2 separate regions of the Homo sapiens genome follow, and region 1 is linked to region 2. Evidence: promoter capture Hi-C in human tissues and cell types (Jung and others, 2019). All regions are on one chromosome and are shown on one strand. Each heading gives the region's core, a stretch centred on a gene start or on the middle of the fragment in contact. The rest is flanking DNA. Distances are from core to core; before and after follow the strand shown.

Evidence for each region. The method cuts DNA at HindIII sites, captures the fragments that hold promoters and counts their contacts. A contact is called where the count stands out against the background at its distance.
Region 1: a fragment that was not itself captured here is called in contact with the fragment with the promoter of CLASRP in region 2 in 1 of the 25 tissues and cell types used here (liver).

Annotation. Positions count from the first base shown.
Region 1 is chr19:43,722,215-43,725,131 of GRCh38, reverse strand. No RefSeq gene overlaps it. Among named protein-coding and RNA genes, the nearest start is that of IRGC, 7.6 kb to the right of the region's middle. The HindIII fragment of the contact is 3,341 bases long and covers 1-2,917 here.
Region 2 is chr19:45,037,645-45,040,455 of GRCh38, reverse strand. It overlaps CLASRP (CLK4 associating serine/arginine rich protein), which reads right to left and starts at 1,411. Exons shown (of 21, transcript NM_007056.3): 1 at 1,348-1,411; 2 at 145-272. The coding sequence starts at 243. RELB (RELB proto-oncogene, NF-kB subunit) reads right to left here. Exons shown (of 12, transcript NM_006509.4): 12 at 2,264-2,811. The coding sequence ends at 2,666. RefSeq lists an enhancer at 868-1,737. The HindIII fragment of the contact is 17,106 bases long and covers 1-2,811 here.

The sequences.
Region 1 (2,917 bases), core at 66-2,565, 1.3 Mb after region 2:
GCCTAGGAGATCAAGGCTGCAGTGAGTGGAGATCGTGCCATTGCACTCCAGTCTGAGTGACAGAATGAGACCCTCTCTCAAAAAAAAAAAAAAAAAAAAAAAAAAAAGCTGCCAAAAAAAAAAAAAAAAGCCTATTTGGCACTTGTGCCACCTGCCGTAAGTTTAACTCAGGAAAATGTGTACATCCCGATCCTGGACATTTTAATCTACCTAATGGGCCCTTCAAGGTTTGGCAAATGGATTTTATCCAACTACCCACTTCCGTGTGTGTGTGTGTGTGTGTGTGTGTGTGTGTGTGTGTATATATATATATATATATATATATGTACTAGTAACAGTTTGCACATTCTCCTATTGGGTAGAGGCTTTCCTGGTAGACAAGCCACTGCTTCAGCTGTGGCCAAAATTCTCCTGGAAAAAAAGTATTCCCACCTAGGGAACTCCCCTTGAAGTACATCGTGATCAGGAGCCCATTTTACTGGCCATATAATAAAACAAGTGAGTTCAGTTTGGCCAATTTCTCAGCATTTCCACTGTCTACAATCCCCAATCTTCTGGCTCAGTGGAACAAACAAGGGGAACTATAAAAACCCAGTTGGATGGCCGGGCACAGTAGCTCACCCCTGTAACCCCAGCACTTTGGAAGGCTGAGGCAGGCAGATCACTTGAGATCAGGAGTTCAAGACCAGCCTGGCCAACATGGTGAAACCCCATCCCTATTAAAAATACAAAAATTAGCCAGGTGTGGTGGTACACGCCTATAATCCCAGCTACTTGGGAGGCTGAGGCAGGAGAATTGCTCAAACCCAGGGGACAGAGGTTGCAGTGAGCTGAGATCAAGCCGCTGCACTCCAGCCTAGGTGATAGAGTGAGACTCCATTTCAAAACAAAAAAACAAAAAACCCAGTTGGCAGAATTTATCTACACCTTCCTTGACCTAAGTTCCTCCTTTGGTATTATTAAATCTAAGGGCCACTCTCTTTGGGGCTCATAAACTTTCACCTTTGGAAATAGTCACAGGCCATCCTATGCACTTGGCCTCCTCTGCTTTTGACCCTTAATTGATAAAAGGAGACATATCCATCTGGGTGCAGTGGCTCACACTCGTAAAATCCTAACACTTTGGGAGGCTGAAGCAAGGGGATCGCTTGAGTCCAGGAGCTCGAGACCAGCTTGGGTAACATGGCAAAACCCTGTCTCTACAAAAACACAAAAATTAGCTGGGTGTAGTTGTGTGTGCACCTGTAGTCCCAGCTACTCGGGATGCTGAGACGGGACGATCACTTCAACCGGGAGGCAGAGGTTGCAATGAGCCAAGATCCCGCTACCGTACTCCAGCCTGGGCACCAGAGGGAGACACTGTCTCAAAACAAAAACAAAAAAACAAAAAAAAACAAAACAGACATACTTCAATATTAATAAAGCCTTACTAAGGTAAAGGCATTAATAAAGCAATGGATAGAAATCATATTTTGATAGAACAATCTTTCCACAGCACAATCATAGGAGACAAAGACCTACAACACCATGATCTGCAGCCTGGCGACTTTGTCTATTGGAAAAGACACGTACGCAAGAATTCTATCCAGCCTTACCAGAAAGAGCCACATTAAGTCCTTCTCACCAATCCCTGTGCTGCCAAACTAAAGGGCATTGACTTCTGTATCCACATCTTTCATATTTATTTATTTATTTATTTTTGAGATGGGGTTTTGCCCAGGCTGGAGTGCAGTGGCATGATCTCGGCTCACTGCCACTTATGCCCACTGGGTTCAAGCGATTCTCCTGCCTCAGCCTCCCAAGTAGCTGGGATTACAGGTGCCTGCCACCACGCCCAGCTAATTTTTGTGTTTTTAGTGGAGATGGAGATGGGGTTTCACCATGTTGGCCGGGCTGGTCTTGAACTCCTGACCTCAAGTAATCCGCCCACCTCGGCCTCCCAAAATGCTGGGATTACGGGCGTGAGCCACTGCGCCCAGCCTATTTTTTCTTTTTTTGAGATAGGATCTCATTCTGTCACCCAGGCTGGAGTGCAGTGGCACGATCATGGCCCATTACAGCCTTGACCTCTGAGGCCCAAGTGATCCTCCCACCTCAGCCTCCTGAGTAGCTAGGCCTACAGGCGCGTGCCACATGCCTGGCTAGTTTTTTGTATTTTTTGTAGAGACAGGGTCTCGCCATGTTGCCTAGGCTGGTCTCCAACTCCTGGGCTCAAGTGATCCTGCTGCCTCGGACTCCCTAAGTGCTGGGATTACAGGTATGAGCCCTGCGCCCAGCCACAAAGTCAAACTTTGAGACATACATGTTCAGATTCCCTGTTTCACCCCAAAAGTGACTGCAGTCTACAGAAAAGACATTGAAATTAGATCTTAAAACTGCCCAAAACCAGAATTTAACTAAATGCAAAAATACGCTGGGCATGGTCATTCATACCTGTAACCCCAGCACTTTGGGAGGCCAAAGCAGGAGGATCACTTGAAGCCAGGTGTTCAAGACCAGATTGGCCAACACAGTGAAACCCCGTTTCTACTAAAAGTACAAAAAAATTAGCCGGGCACGGTGGCTCATGCCTATAATCCCAGCAACTCAGGAGGCTGAGGTTGGAGAATCGCTTGAACCCGGGAGGTGGAGGTTGCAGTGAGCTGATATCATGTGACTGCACTCCATCCTGATGACAAAGTGAGACCTTGTCTCACAAAAAAAAAAAAAAAAAAAAGCAAAAATATTTATGCTCCTAATCCTTTAATTGTTGATGGTCTCCAGCAATGTCATAATTAGATAATAGAAGCTTGGGCAAATACTGGTTGACACCTCCCTACAACAGCCTGGGTAAGTTTTCTGTTCGTTTTTTTCAGACAGAGTCTTGCTCTGTCGCCCAGGCTGGAGTGCAGTGGCACAGTCTTGGCTCACTGCAACA
Region 2 (2,811 bases), core at 162-2,661:
TCCTCAAGAAAAGATTAATGAATATACTCCTGAGGAAATGAGCCTCTTGTCTTGACATACTTCCAAGCCCAGATTTTACCAGGATGACCAGCTGTGCCCCCCAACCCAGGGTCCCTCACCCCAGACAAAAGGCCAGTTACTCACGATCTTTTCATAATACTCCCGTCTCCGCTCCGCCCTCTTCTTGTAGTCGACCATCATGCCTCGAAGCTTCCGCTCATGCTTCCGAGCCTCGTGCCACATTGTGGTGAGGCCAAGCCTGGGGCCTCAACCTGAGGGATGAAGGGACCAGGAAAGTCAGATGGTCTGTGAAACCCGTATGGGCAGAATCAAAGTCATCTAACAAGTTGGTGGCAGAGTCGATCCCAAACAACACATCTCTTAGCTTCAGGGAGCAGAAGTGAAGCTGCAGAACAGTATGCCAGATGTTCAAGTCCATCCCTAACAACTTCGATCTAGAAGCTTGGGCATTCTGAAAAACCCTCAGGTGATTCTGAGGTGAGCATCACTGGGAAAGGGGTGTCCTAGATTCCACGCGCTGGAGTCGGGAATGAAAGGTTTTGAAACATCAGCAGTGTTTGAAGTAGGGTCAGAAGGCAAACCCTGAGCACTTAAGGCTGGAGCTCAAGAGAAAGAGAAGAACTGAAAAGGCTCCCACTAGGGGCCATGCGTGGGGTTGGGTATGAGTCTGGGTGGTAGAGGGATAAGGAGAATAAGGATGAAGGCAGGTGGAGGAAATCGGAGAAAGCTTTTAAGGGAACAGTGCAGTTGTATGAAGGTGGAGGTCGAGGACAGGTGAAGGGCGTGGCGGAAGATGAAGATGCTAGAGGGAGTGGGAACACGGGGAGGGAGTGTTGCAAGGAGACCAGAGTGAAGCTGAGGTCTAAAGATGGGATCTAGATGGCGGGGTGGGGAGAGCATCCAAAGAAAAAGAGCGTAGAGCCTGAGAGAGGCGGAGCTGGCTGACAGGAGGGCGTGGGCTGAGCTTGGGGGCAGGGCTTGCGGGAAAGGGCGGAGACCGAAGGTTTGGACGGGGCTTGTGGATCGCGTCGCGGCCTGAGGATTTGGGCTGGGTTTTTTTTTTGTTGTTTTTTTTTTTGACAAGGGGGCGGGGCCTGTGATAAGCTGCTGGGCCGAAGGCCGAGTTCGACGCGGCAACTTCTGGCCCACAGCCGGGGCACGGGCTCGGCCTGAGGCCCGTCAGGCCTAATGGGGTGAGGGACGAGCGATCCTCGGGGCCGGGACGCAGCAGAAGCCCACAGCAGCATGGGGAGAGCCTGAGGAAAGGGAGAAGCTGGGCTGAGGCCTGCCCGAAAACCGGGAGGTCGAGCCGCAGCCTGCACTCACCGGCTGGTCGCCGCCTCCCACCGCTGCGCTCGCGCGCGGCCCGCACCGGAAGCGGAAATGAAAGGCCGCGCTAGGGGGAGGGGGCGGAGCATGGTGGAGGGCCGCGCAGCGCACTTCCGCCGACGAGAGAGGCGGGTCCTAGAGTCGAGAGGGGCGGGATCCCGAGGAAGAAGTGGGAGAGCGGAGAAGGGAAGAGCTTGGATGCTTTATCTTTTTATCTTTTTTATTTTATTTATTTATTTAATTTTATTTTTTTGAGACGGAGTCTCTCTTTGTCTCCCAGGCTAGAAGGCAGTGGCGCGATCTAGGCTCACTGCAACCTTTGCCTCCTGGGTTTCAGCTATTCTCCCACCTCAGCCTCCCGAGTAGCTGGGACTACAAGCGCGCGCCACCAAGCCCGGCTAATTTTTGTATTTTTAGTAGAGATGGGGTTTCACCATTTTGGTTAGGCTGGTCTCAAACTCCTGACCTCAGGTGATCCACCTGCCTCGGCCTCCCAAAGTGCTGGGATTACAGCCATGAGCCACCATGCCCGGTCTCATTTTTTATTTTCATTTTCATTTTTTATTTTTTTGAGACACAGCCTCGCGCTGTCGCCCAAGCTGGAGTGCAGTGGTGCGGTCTTGGCTCACTGCAACGTCCACCTCCTGGGCTCAAGCGATCCTCCCACCTCAGCCTCTAGAGTAGCTGGGATTACAGGCGCGCAGCACCACGCCCGGCTAATTTTTGTATTTTTTGTAGAGACTAGGTTTCGTCATGTTGCCCAGGCTGGTCTCAAACTCGTGAGCTCAAGCGATCCTCCTGCTTTGGCCTCCCAAAGTGCTGGGATGACAGGCCTGAGCCCCCAGCCTGGAGGCTTTCTTTGCTACTAAGGGACTAGGGCGTTTCCCAAGCCCAGAACAGACGAAACCCCGGAGGCTCAAAAACTCATCTTTATTGGGAAGACTCTGAACAACCAACCTACCCCCCACCTTCAAGTCTGGGGAGGGAGGGCCAGGAATCTGCCCCCTCCTCCCATATGTACAATCTTTTCCGAATCCTACTGGAGAAGGTGCCCCCACATGTGGGGACAGAGGCAGCTGTAACAAGCTAGTGCACGGGAGCCATGTCCCTTTTCCTCTCCGGACTCAGTTTCCTCATCTGTAAAATGGGCTCAAGGGGAAACCCGTGCAACGGAGCTTCTCGCCAAGGCTGAATATGTCCACTTCAGAAGCATGAGGAAGGGCCAAGGGGATGGGGGTGCTAGACATCCTGGTTGGGATTGCACGGCTCCTCCACCTCCCTCCCCACCCAGTGCCCCTCCTCTGGCATCGCGGGGCTACGTGGCTTCAGGCCCCGGGGATAGGAGGCCGCCCCCAAAGGCCGCCTCGCGGTAATGATTGGGGAACATGTTGCTGCCCACAAGGCTGGCGGTGCCTCCATCCCCGGGGCCCGGGGCCTGGTACGAGTCCAGTGTCAGTGGTT